Regions from separate parts of the Homo sapiens genome. Here region 1 is linked to region 2. The links are contacts of gene promoters, found by promoter capture Hi-C in blood cells and fetal thymus (Javierre and others, 2016). All regions are on one chromosome and are shown on one strand. The core of a region is centred on a gene start or on the middle of the fragment in contact, and the rest is flanking DNA. Distances in the headings are between cores, read along the strand shown.

The links. Contacts are between HindIII fragments. The CHiCAGO score rates a contact against its expected background, and 5 or more counts as called.
Region 1: a fragment that was not itself captured here is called in contact with the fragment with the promoter of ZNF142 in region 2 in 6 of 17 cell types (naive CD4 T cells, M1 macrophages, activated CD4 T cells and 3 more); the score reaches 6.5 in naive CD4 T cells.

The regions. Positions count from the first base shown.
Region 1 is chr2:218,903,266-218,909,749 of GRCh38, reverse strand. LINC01494 (long intergenic non-protein coding RNA 1494) reads left to right here. Exons shown (of 5, transcript NR_110238.1): 4 at 2,704-2,911. It overlaps LOC124906119 (a long non-coding RNA gene), which reads right to left and starts at 590. Exons shown (of 2, transcript XR_007088090.1): 1 at 301-590. RefSeq lists an enhancer at 726-895. The HindIII fragment of the contact is 1,258 bases long and covers 4,575-5,832 here.
Region 2 is chr2:218,654,321-218,660,872 of GRCh38, reverse strand. ZNF142 (zinc finger protein 142) reads left to right here and starts at 1,250. Exons shown (of 11, transcript NM_001379659.1): 1 at 1,250-1,504; 2 at 1,743-1,893; 3 at 1,997-2,172; 4 at 4,410-4,723. The coding sequence starts at 4,444. It overlaps BCS1L (BCS1 ubiquinol-cytochrome c reductase complex chaperone), which reads right to left and starts at 1,190. Exons shown (of 8, transcript NM_001079866.2): 1 at 1,130-1,190. RefSeq lists enhancers at 1,067-1,196, 2,007-2,126. The HindIII fragment of the contact is 10,571 bases long and covers 1-2,141 here.

The sequences.
Region 1 (6,484 bases), core at 3,954-6,453, 240 kb before region 2:
CTCAGTGTATTCCCTACTCCAAAATGCCTAAAAATGCTCACAGCCACTCCAATGCCTCCAGATAGGCAAAGTCACAGTGGAAAAAGACAGTGGTCTCTTTAAACCTGTTAAGAGTTAAAATCTTTAAATCTGTTAAGAACAGATTTGGTTTAAAATACCTTAGTTTTGCTACTTATATATATTTTTTAAACTGTGATCGTGTGAACACGTCGCTAAGACCTCTTGCATGTCCATAGAAGAGGCCTGGGTAAGTTTGAGGGCCCAGAAGAGGAAGCTCTCCTAAGCGTCGGGGTTATTTACCGTAAAGGTCCTTTAAAAGGCGGAGCCAAAGGGAGGTTGCCGAGAGGCTGGGGCTGAGCTGAATTTCTCGGGTGAAGGAGCACGGTGGAGGCAGGGGGGCGTCGCCAGTCCGGCTCACGGCGCGTGGCCGGCCCAGGGTAGCTTCCCAAAGATGAAACTGTGGCCTCTCTCAGCCGAACCCCACTCAGAGATCCCCGCTGACCCATCCCCGCCCTCCTGCGACCCCTGCTTGGTTCCCAGAAAGGACAGCGACCTCCAACCAGCCCTCGCCCTCCGCAGGTCTCCGTCTCAGGTTTCAAAAGGAGCGCGCCCCCTTAGGCCCGCCCCTCACTTCCGGCCTGTAAACGCGTAGGTCCCACCGATCTCGCGATAGCGCGTCTTCTCGCCGCTGGCGCTCACCCTGGGCATCCTCGCCTACGTGTTGGTTGAGGTTGGCTGAGGTCGGCTGCTCTGTTGGCGCTTGGGATCGGGGCTTTCCCCCAGGCCCATCACGTGGCAGCATCGACTGGACTCTTAAGGCCACCGGCTCCTTTAAGTCCACCCGTCCCTGAAGGTTCCTATCGAGAGGCTAGGCGTAGGGAACCGCCTTCAACCCTGTGCCCACGGTCGTGTTGTGCTGCGCACGAGTGATAAGGACTCAGACATCCTAATGATTGTTCCAGGCTCTCACTGGGTGCCGGACACCGGGCTCCACACACGTCTTCTCAATGAATACCCACAATAACCCTGAGAGAAAGGCGTGGTTTTTTACCCTCGTTATACAATTGGGGAAACTGAGGCTCAAAAGAGTGAAGGAACCTGCTGAGGGTCACAGAAAAGGATGCGGCCGAAACTCGAAGTCAGTCTGGCTGCAGCTCTAAGGCCTCGTTACTGTCGTAGAGCAGTTTGTCAAGAAGTCCTTCGGTTCCTAGATTTCTAGAGGACGCTGGAGTTCATTGTGAAGTGCCGGGGCTTTGGGTCCACACAGATACAGGTGCATAGGAAAATCCAGGAACCTTGTTTGTTCTGTGACTTTAAATGACTTGCTTAACCTTTCTGGGTCTCATTTTTCTTCAACTGATAGATGGGGTTAATAATAATACTTCATAGAATTATCGTGAGTGTTCAGTGCCTACTCCATAGTAAGCTCTCAATAAATGGAAACTGCTACTGTTAATAATCTTTTATCCTCTCACGTGTTGTACAGTGTTCAAAGTGCAGGAGGTGCTTAATAAACCAGAGTGAATGGTGAATGAATGGAGGAAGAAATGTAAAGTCTGGCCAGACACCATGTGGTCCTTGCCTCCAGCCCCCTAATCTTATTTATTTATTTTTGAGACAAAGTTTTCACTCTTATTGCCCAGGCTGGAGTGCAGTGGCGTGATCTCGGCTTACTGCAACCTCTGCCTGTCGGGTTCAGGCGATTCTCCTGCCCCAGCCTCCTGGGTAGATGGGATTACAGGCACATACCACCATACCCAGCTACATTTTTTGTATTTTTTTTACTAGAAATGGGGTTACACCATGTTGGCCAGGCTGGTCTCGAACTCCTGACCTCAGGTGATCCGCCCACCTCGGCCTCCCAAAAAGTGTTGGGATTACAGGCATTAGCCACCGCACCTAGCCAGCCCCCTAATCTCTTACCCACTTCACTATGTGGTGCCACTTCAAAGGGCTTGAACTGGGAAATGACTGTTTCTCTTCTTCCCAAAACGGCTGTGTGTGTGTGCATGTGCACGTGTTTTAACTTGGGTTTGTTTGGTTTTTTTTTTAGGCAGAGTCTTGCTCTGTCACCCAGGTTGGAGTGCAGTGGCACAATCTCGGCTCACTGCAAGCTCCGCCTTCCGGGTTCACACCATTCTCCTGTCTCAGCCTCCCGAGTAGCTGGAACTACAGGCGCCCGCCACCACGCCCGGCTAATTTTTTGTATTTTTAGTAGAGATGGGGTTGCACCGTGTTAGCCAGGATGGTCTCGATCTCCTGACCTCGTGATCCACCCGCCTTGGCCTCCCAAAGTGCTGGGATTACAGCCACCACACCCAGACTTAACTTGTTATTGAAGTAACGTACAGAAAAATACACAAATCCTATGTGCACTTAACTTTTAACACAATGAACAAAGTAGTGTAATCAGGTCCCTGAGGAAGAAACAAATCATTACCAGCTCCCCAAACCCTTCTCCTGTTTCCCTCTATTCACTGCATCTCCTACAGGGATAACCACTATCATGCCTTTTTATTTCATTTTATTTATTTTATTTTATTTTATTTATTTTATTTTTTGGAGATGGGGTCTCACTTTGTCACCCAAGCTTAAGTGCAGTGGCATGATCATAGCTCACTGTAGCTTCGACCTCCTGGGTTGGGATTACAGGCCACTATCCTGCCTTCCAACTGCATAAGTTAACTTTGCCTGTTTTTGCAGCTGCCACTGGGATCATACAGTGTGCTCTCATCTGGAACTTCCCACATCTCCACGTGCCCTCACCTTCAGTGAGAGTCTGAGAAGAAGCCGGGTGGGGTTGCTGCCCACATGGTCGGGGCTGCTGCCAATGCCACTCATCTCACCGTCACTTGCTGCCTCTCTGCCTGCCCCCTGGTCCATGGTTCTCTGACATCTCTCTCTCCTTGAGGTGGGGAAGCATGTTCTGTTTCTCATTCTCAGCTCTTTCATAAGGAGTTCCCACAGCAGAGATGTCTGTGCCCTAGCGAGCCCGTTCTTGCCCTATACCCCAAATGTTTCCCTTTCCACCAGGAAGGCCCTGAGGCCTGAGGGAGTGAGGGTAGAGGTGCACCAAGCCCCAGTGGTCATGCCCAGCCTCACAACATTCCAAATAGCACTCCTCCCTCTGCCCTGTTCGGCGGACCCCTTCCCTGTCCAGTGAAACCTTTTTCTCACTCAGGGTGATGAGCTCTCCGGCCTCTGTTGTTCCTCCCCTGCAGTCTGCCATCCACTACAGACCCCCAGCCCACCAGACACTGGGGAACCCCAACTGTGGCCATGGTTTACTTCCTCTTCCAAGGATTTCTGATGCCATGCCGGTTAAGGGACATGGCTTAAGGGTCTAGGTATGTTACATATGAGGAGAGTAAGGCTCAGAGAAATTTAAGGAATTTTCCAAAACCATATAATTTATAAGTGATGAGAATTAGACCTCAGAAGTGCCATTTGATGCCAGGCTAGAAGGCTAAGTGTCTGCTAAAGGCCACCATTCAGTGAGACTAAAATGGGTGAGACGTCTAGGTACTTTACATATATTACATCTAGTCCTCAAAACAACTTCAGCAGATGAGTGTTTTTATTTCAATATAGCAGATACAGAAACTGAGGTCCAGAGAACTTAATGACTTTGCCTTAGGTCACAGGGATAGTGAGAGACTAAACTAGGATTCAATCCCTCCCGCCGCACAGGCTGACCCCAAAGCCTGGCTCTTTCCTCTGCACTGTGCCATGCTCACTGGAAGGATTTTGACAAGAGCAGATATGAGTGGACATGGAGCTAAGGCAGGACAGTTGGGGTACATTCCAGAGAGAGGGAAACATGGACCACAGAGGGGCTGTTTCCATTTTCTATTACTGAGTAACAAACCGCTCCAAAATTCAGTGGCTTAAAAATAACCATTTACATCCCACAGTCCTGTGGGTTGACTACAGTCAGCTGGGCAGTTCTCACGTGGGGTCTCTCAAGCAGTTCAGTTAGATGGTGGCTAAGGCTGGAGTCATCTGAAGGCTCAACTCGGCTGGATATCCAAGATGACTTTTTAAAAATTTATTTATTTATTTATTTATTTTTGAAGACACAGCCTCACTTCGTCACCCAGGCTGGACTGTAGTGGCGCAATCTCACTCACTGCAACCTCCACCTCCCAGGTTCAAGTGATTCTCATGCCTCAGCCTCCCGAGAAGCTGGGACTACAGGCATGTGCCACTATGTCTGGCTAATTTTTTGTATTTTTAGTAGAGATGGGGTTTCGCCATGTTGGCCAGGATGGTCTTGAACTCCTGGCCTCAAGTTATCCGCCTGCCTCGGCCTCCCAAAGTGCTGAGATTACAGGTGTGAACCACTGAGCCCAGCCCCAAGATGACTTTTTAAAGTCACATGTCTGGCACCTCATCTGAATTGGCTGGAACTGAAGGGGCCTGCCCAGGCATTACTCTCTCTATACAGCCTTCCCATGTGGCTTGTTTCGGGTTCCTCATAGCATGGTAGTCTCTGGGTAGACAGACCTCATACACGGTGATTGGCTTGCCCCAGAGTGAACATTCCGAGCGACTGAGGCAAAAACTGCAAAGCTTCCTATTCCCTCTCTTCAGCAGTCATGCAGCTTCGCTTCCACAGCACACTCAGTGAAAAGGAAGCATGGACTGGCCCTTTCAAGGGGAGGGGACAATACACAGGTGTGAAGCATGATTCAAGGCGGACCACCTTTGGGGCCCAGCTATTACAGGGGCTGAGGCAGGAAAGGACTGCTCAGGGAACTGCACACAGTCATGCTTCAGTGGAACATGGTGTGGAAGTGAGAAAAAACTGGAGATGATCGTTTGTGGCATATGGTGGAGGGCTTCAATGCTCAGGAACCTGCATATGGATACACACTGGAGTCTTTAGCTGCCCAGCATCTGAGCCCCCTTCATATGTTGGTGGAGCCTCCCTAATGTGAGTCTTAGTGAGAAGTCAGATACTTGCTCACCTGGCCCCTAGCAGGAAGATCACAGCCAAATCAATGCTCCCAGTCAGGACTCTAAATCTTCAACAAGTGACCCAAGGAGGAAGAGGACTGTTTATAATTCATCCCAGAGGTGGCAGCAGCAAGTGCTCAGGGTGGTGGTAGCCATGTGGGAAGCAGCCCCCAAGCCCCTTAATCAGGCTGCACTTGGGACAGGATTTAGCTAAAGTTCTAGCTGCCTAGCTTCTCTTGGCTCCTGCTTGCTTCCTGAGCCTGATTCTTGAGGCTTCCTGTCAATTCTTTGAGTTCCCTGATGTCATCCCAGTAAATTCCTCTTCTACTAAGTGAACCAGAGTCTGTTTCTGTTGTTTGCAATTAAGAACCCAAATTGGTACAAAGATCCATTGAGAGCTTTAGTCAGAGGAAATGACATGATCAGAGCACTTCGTGGGAGAGAAAAACAGAACAATAGGATAGGGATGGATTGAAGAGGAAGAAAGAGGAATGACAGAGGCTAGTTGGAAGGTCGTTGTGATGTTTGAGGTGTGTGGTGAACTAGGATATTGACCATGTGAATGAAGTGGAAGAATAAGCAGATCTTGGCCACTGATTGAATATAGAAAGGAGAAGAGAAGGTGAGAGTCCAAGTTTACACCAGTTTTGAGGTTCAGTGACTAAGAAAATGATGATGTGACAAAGAGAAACAAGCAAGTTAAGGAGAACTGGTTTGGAGGGGAAAGTCATTCATTCACTTATTCAACAAATATTAAATGCCTGGTCTATGCCAAGCACTGTGCTAGGCATTGAGAAAAGAACAGTAAACAAAACAAAGTCTCAGCCCTTAGCAAATACATACATAAGATAATGAATCTGCATTAATAAAGCTTGAGCCGGGCATGGTGGCTCACGCCTGTAATCCCAGCACTTTGGGAGGCTGAGGTAGGTGGATCACTTGGGGTCAGAAGTTCAAGACCAGCCTGGCCAACATAGTGAAACCCCATCTCTACTAAAAATACAAAAAATGAGCTGGGCGTGGTGGCAGGCCACCTGTAATCCCAGCCACTCAGGAGGCTGATGCAGGAGAATTGCTTGAACCTGGGAGGCAGAGGAGTCAGAGGTTGCTGTGAGCTGAGATGGCGCCATTGCACTCCAGCCTGGGTGACAGAGCAGGACTCTGTCTCAAAAATAAAATAAAATAAAATAAAGCTTGAGTGGGTGGTATCACAGGCATACATTAAAACATGTCTAGCTGGCAGCTGGAACTTCAAGAAAGATCACAGGAGACCAGGTGTGGTGGCTCACACCTGTAATCCCAGCACTTTGGGAGGCCAAGATGGGTGGATCACCTGAGGTCAGGAATTCAAGACCTGCCTGGCCAACATGGCGAAACCCTGTCTCTACTAAAATACAAAAATTAGCCCGGCATGGTGGTGCACACCTGTAATACCAGCTACTCAGGAGGCTAAGGCAGGAGAATTGCTTGAACCCAGGAGGCAGAGGTTGCAGTAAGCTGAAATCACACCACTGCATTCCAGCTT
Region 2 (6,552 bases), core at 1-2,500:
CCACAGGTCAGCATTACTGTGTGGGTCAATACCCTCCTTTTGTGGGGTAAGGGTGGTATTGGAATGCAAGGGTGGAGGCTCCAGGTCCCTCATCCCATTTTGTCCTTCATTAGTCTACTCATACCTGTTTCCTACCAGAGGACCATGTCTGGAGATGCCTTAAACCAAAAAGAGCTATATAAACAGGCTTCACATCAGGGTAATGGATGGACAGGATTTTTGTGGTCCCTGGGACCAGCTATGATAAAAAGGGGTCCATTGGCTGCAGTCAGCAAGGGAGAAGCGTCCGTTGACTTGTCAGTAACCCTATGTCTTGTTATGAGTAATGTCCTTCAAATATCCTCCCCCTTACGTCCCCAATATTTAACGTCTTGTTTAGACCTTTATTACCTCCCACCTAAACTGTCTTTAAAATCGTAGTTCTTGAAATGGCATTTTAATAGGTCTTCACCTCCTGCTTCACGGAACATCTACACAAGGGTCCAGATCTTTCATCATAGGGATCAGCTCCAATACCATATCTCTCTCTGCTCCAGCACCTTCAATGGCTGGCTCCCAGCAGACCCCTGAATTGGGTATAAACTCAGCCTGGTACTCAAGGCTCTCTACAATACGGCGCCCACCTACCTTTCATGGATTAGCTCCTAACACTACCTGTTTAGCAAATATGCAAATACGCAACAAATATGTTCAACAAGTAAGCAACCTCCCAACTCCTTGCTCATGCAGTGCTCTTGGCTCGGAATGCCCGTTCTTTTCTCCCTCATTCTCCCCAAATGAAAATCTGCCCATCTGCTACTTTCTCCACGGATCGTCACATCGTAGACAATAAGATCCTGAGGGACAAGAGCAAAGTTGTTTCTAGTACACCTCTCCTCCAACCCCGAACCCCGGCCACTTTGCCCTGCGCCTGGCATGCAGGGAGGTGAGCTGACAGCAGTGACCTCGGCTGAGCCTCAGAACTGGGATCCAGAATTCCAAAACACCTATGCATGGAAGGCCACAGACAAAGCTCTCCCGTCCCCGGCCCCTCCGCGACACCCAGGAACCCCCTCCTGAACCTCGCCCACACCCCAGCTCGCGCCTCCAGCCACATGGTTTGGGGTAACCCGTCACTCAGCCCTCTCACCGCCGTGACTCTCTGGCCCTCCGTCTCGATGGTTTCACCGCGCCTGCACCTTGGGGAAGCTGCGTTCGGCCCCGCCCCGGGTCCTTTCATCTACTTCCCGCCACACCCACAGAGAAGCCCACGCCACTCTACCCCAGAGCTCTCGATGGTGCTTCTCCGGCTTCAGGGCTGGAGTGGGGGTGGAGGGCGGGAAAAACCACAGAGACAAAACATAGAGTACCCCGGCAGCCGGCAAGAGGAAGAGAGAGTGGCTTCCACATCCCCAATATCCTAGAGGCGGCTGAGCCGGAGGCGGTCGCACAAAGCGGGCCCCGGGGGCCGTTCCAGCCGCGGCCGACCATAGAGATGCGGCTCCCGCCGGCTCTGGGTCTGGAGGTGAGTGAGCGGCTGCGGGGCGGAACTGGGAAGGGAATGCGGGTGGAGCGAGCTGGAGGCAAAGTTTTTCGAGCCCCGGGATCAGGGTGGGCCTGGGCGCTGGGAACTCTCGGAAGGAGGTACTGAAGGGAGCACCCAGACGAGCTGGGCCCCGGCGCTGCAGTCGCGTCACGGTTCTGGACCCCGCCCGGGTACCTGCTGCTCTCAGGACAAAATCATGACGATGCTCCATCCCAAGCCTTCCAGGTTACAAACCGCCTTTCCAGTTCGCTGGCTCTTATGATCCAGCTCCTGCCCGACGATGTGGACACTGTCATCACCTCCATTTTACAGATAGGAAAGCTGAGGCCCAGAGAAGCGAAGCGACTGTGTCTGTCCAAGACCACGCGGTGAGTCAGAGCCAGAGGCAGGTGGGAACCTGGGTCGCTAGGCCGGGGCCCGTTGTTTCTCCAGGCCTTCTCTCTGCCTTAGTCTGTCCTTTCTCTTCCTCAGCCCTCCTGCCCGGAAGATAAGCGTATTTCTTCTCTGGTGCCCACCTGTCTCCTACCTCACCCTGCCCTCCCGCAGGTGAAGGTTCTTAATCTTGACGGCTCAGCGTCCTCCTTGGCTCCCCCCGGAGGCCATGTATGGTCAAGCTTGAAGATTCCCCAGAACAGCGATAATATTCAGTAAGTGGAGGCTGCAGTTTCCAGAGAATCCCTCTGACCACGGGAGTGCACTTTCCAGCCACCTTGTGAATCCCTGTGATCTGTTGTTTTGAGTCCATGGGATTCTGGAAATAGGGACTATCAGATTGCAGGATCTTGGTTTTTGTTTGTTTTTTTTTTGAGACGGAGTTTCGCTCTTGTTGCCCAAGCTGGGGTGCAATGGTGCGATCTCGGCTCACTGCAACCTCCGCCTCCCGGGTTCCAGCGATTCTCCTGCCTCAGCCTCCCGAGTAGCTGGGATTACAGGCGTGTGCCACCACACCCTGCTGATTTTTTGTATTTTTAGTAGAAACAGGGTTTCACAATGTTCGCCAGGCTGGTCTCGAACTTCTGACCTCAGGTGATCGGCCCGCCTTGGCCTCCCAAAGTGCTGGGATTACAGGCCTGAGCCACCGCGCCCGGCCTGGTTTCTTCTTCTTTTTTTCTTTTTGCATCTTGTCTGTGACTCAATTTCATGAAGTGATTCCCATCATTCTTATTAATTACTAATTATTCAGCTTAAACTCATTTTAGCCATGTATAACAGGGTATGCAATTCAATTGTCATTCATTCCTCAGTTATGTTCCCATATTTAGTTTGAGGCCATAGTCAGTTAATGAGTTTGAAATTTCTCCAAATGTGTTACGTTATAGGTGAGGAACCACTGGTTTTGTACAAGATACCTAGCTTTACTCCAATGCAGCTCCATATCTGTGGTTCTTCACTGGAATCTTCGATTGTGGGTGATTTGTGTTCGTTGAAGTGATAATGTCAGTATCACAAAGTAATATCATTGAAGTGATAATGTCAACAAATTACTAAAAAAGCTATACATCTAGGGAGAGAGACTGACAGGTAAACAACAGTGCAGTGTGACCTCGTTTCTGATAGGGCTGTGTACAGAGTGCCCTTAGGACGCCAGAAGAGAGAAGATAAGAGTTTCGGGAAGCCAGGCCCGGCGCGGTGCCTCACGCCTGTAATCCCAGCACTTTGGGAGGCCGAGGCAGGTGGATCACCTGAGTTCTGGAGTTCAAGACCAGCCCAACCAACATGGAGAAACCCCATCTCTACTAAAAATACAAAATAGTAGCCAGGCGTGGTGGTACATGCCTGTAATCCCAGCTACTCAGGAGGCTGAGGCAGGAGAATCGCTTGAACCCAGGAGGCAGAGGTTGTAGTGAGCTGAGATCGTGCCACTGCCCTCCAGCCTAGGTGACAGACTAAGACTGTCTCAAAAAAAAGAATGTCAGGAGGCCTTCATGGTGGAAGTGACATTTGTGCAGCTTCTTCAAGGATAGTTAATTGGTTAGCCAGATAAGAGAGAGAGATTGAGAAGGGGAAAAGGCATATCAAGCCAAGAGACGCAAAAGGCTGTGAGGGTATGAAAGCAAAAGAGAATGTGGTGGGTCTGGAGAATGGCACATCATCTGGTTCAGAGATCTGCTGAGGGGAGAAGTGGGAGATGAGTCAGGGGAGGTCAGCAGGAGCCAGATGATGAAGGAAGGGCCTTCCTTATAATCCATGCTGAGGAATAGTGAGATTATCAAAGGTTAAGAGGGAAAGGGACCAGGCAAGGTGGCTCACGCCTATAATCCCAGCACTTTGGGAGGCCAAAACGGGCAGATCACCCAAGGTCAGAAGTTCGAGACCAGCCTGGCCAACATGGTGAAACTCCATCGCTGTTAAAAATACAAAATTTACCTGGGCGTGTGTGGCACATGCCTGTAGTCCAGCTATTGGGGAGGCTGAGACAGGAGAATTGCTTGAACCCAGGAGGCGGAGGTTGCAGTGAGCCAAGATCACGCCACTGCACTCCAGCCTGGGTGACAGAGCGAGACTCTGTCTCAAAAAAAAAAAAAAAAAAGGACTTCTGAGATATTTGGGCCCCACCTAATTTTGTTGCAGATAAGAAATCTGAGACCCAAATTGCTTAATGACTTGGCTAAGGGCACTTAGCTAGCAGAAGACAACCTGCAGTCATTAATATATTGGCCAATACTTGTTGGCTGTCTCCTAATATTCTGTTATCATTTTTATACTTTTTGTTCTGAACATTATCATAAAAGAAAGCCTCTATTTAGTCTCATATGGTATATATGGCATATTGCCATGCAAGAAAATGCCTAAGTGGGTGGGCACTGGGCTGTGTACCCACGCCAGCCAGGAAGAAAGTAAGAACTCTAACCTTACTTTGTTTTTCTTCTGGTTGGCTTGTCAGCATTTAAGAAGCCAAAACACACAAGTCGGTGGTGATGACAGACCCCCTTTTGGACTCACAGCCAGCCAGTAGCACCGGGGAGATGGATGGACTGTGCCCTGAGCTATTGCTGATCCCCCCGCCTCTCTCTAACCGTGGAATCCTGGGGCCTGTCCAGAGCCCCTGTCCTTCCCGGGACCCTGCACCTATACCTACTGAGCCAGGCTGCCTGCTGGTAGAGGCCACAGCAACTGAAGAGGGACCAGGGAACATGGAGATCATTGTGGAGACAGTAGCTGGAACCCTGACCCCAGGTGCTCCTGGAGAGACCCCAGGTACAAACACAGTTGCAAGCAGGCCAGTGGGACAAGCAGCTCTGAGGTTTTGTCTGGGTTATTTTTGATTCTGTATAAATATGATGAGAACACAAGGTAGCATCCTATTTTTATACTTGGAGATGTTGTCATTTGGTTTGCAGTTGGTGCATGTTGATTGAAGGCTGGCGAAGTGGTGCACAGCCTTCTACCAAGCTTTTGGCAGTCTGTCCTGCAAGGGCTTCATGTGTGCTAGGCAGTAATCCAGAAAGTAAGACCTTTCTGACACCTCCGCCCAATCCTGGCTTGTCCCTACTCTTACAGTCCTTGGAGATTCTTTCCTCCATATTGACCCTCCTACCCAGGAACTGCAGCCAGGGATTAAGCAAAAACCCTGTCTCTACCACCCTGGGCTTGGCAGGGCTTTCCAGAAGTGATCTGGTATTTCCCTGCCCTAGTTTTTTGTGTATAACATACTTTACTCATCCGAGGCATGTTGTTAAGAATAAGAGTTGAGGCCTGGTACAGTGGCATGCACCTGTAGTCTCAGCTACTTGGGAGGCTGAGGCAGGAAGATTGCTTGAGCCCAGGAGTTAGAGGCTGCCGTATGTTATGATCATACCTGTGAATAGCCACTGCACTCCAGCCTGGGCAATATAGTGAGACCCCCATCTCTTTAAAAAAACAAAACAAAACAAAAAAGTAGGAGTTGAGCATTTGTATTTATCTCAGATGAAAGATTCTCCCTTTATTCATCCCATTATCCTCACCTCTTATTTTTAGGAAGCTTCCCTGTTTTTTAATTACCGTCCTCCAGCCATAGTTGTCACCACTTCAGTTGGCACTGTAGTATAGTGACAAAGAATATTGGGAAAGATTAGCTAATTTGACCATATAATATTTCCAAACTTCCATATGGTGAAAGAAATTTAAAAAAATAAAAAGCCTAGGAAAAACATTCGCAATATGTAAGAAAGAGTTAATATCTTTAAAATTCAAAGAGCCACAGTAAGAAAAAGAAACCATCTTTTTTGTTGTTTGCTTTGCTTTTTTTGTTTTCTTTTGGTTTTGGGGGTTTTGTTGAGACAGGGTCTTGCTCTGCCACCCAGGCTAGAGTGCAGTGGCACAGTTACGGCTCACTGCAGCCTTGACCTCCTGGGCTTAAGCAATCCTCTTGCCTCAGCTTCCCATGTAGCTGGGGCCACAGGTGTATACCACCCACACTCAGCTAGTTTTTAAATTTTCTTTGGTAGAAACGAGGTCTCACCTTGTTGCCCAGGCTAGTCTTGAACTCCTGGGCTCAAGCAATCTTCCCACCTCGGCCTCCTAAAGTTTTGGGATTACAGACATGAGCCATCGCACCCAGCAGAAACCTTTTTTTTTTTTTAAATGGGAAAAAGAAATCTATGTGCAATGCTCTAAAGAAGAAATAAAAGTAGTAACCATATGGAAGGATGCTTAATCTCACTAGCAAAGAAATAAATTCCAGTTAAAAATAAGAGATGTGGCTGGGCATGGTGGCTCATGCCTATAATCCTAGCACTTTGGGAGGCCGAGACAGGCAGTTGCCTGAGCTCAGGAGTTTGAGACCAGCCTGGGCAAGATGGTGAAACCCCACCTCTGCTAAGATACAAAAAATCAGCTGGCATGGTGGTGGGCACCTGTAATCCCAGCTACTCAGGAGGCTGAGGCAGGAGAATTGCTTGAACCCGAGAGGCGGAGGTTGCAGTGAGCCAAGATCGCACCACTGAACCCTAGCCTGGACAACAAAGCGAGATTCTGTCTCAAAAAAAAAAAAGGAGATGCATTTTGGCATAAATTAAACATTTTTAATAATACCTAGTGTTGAT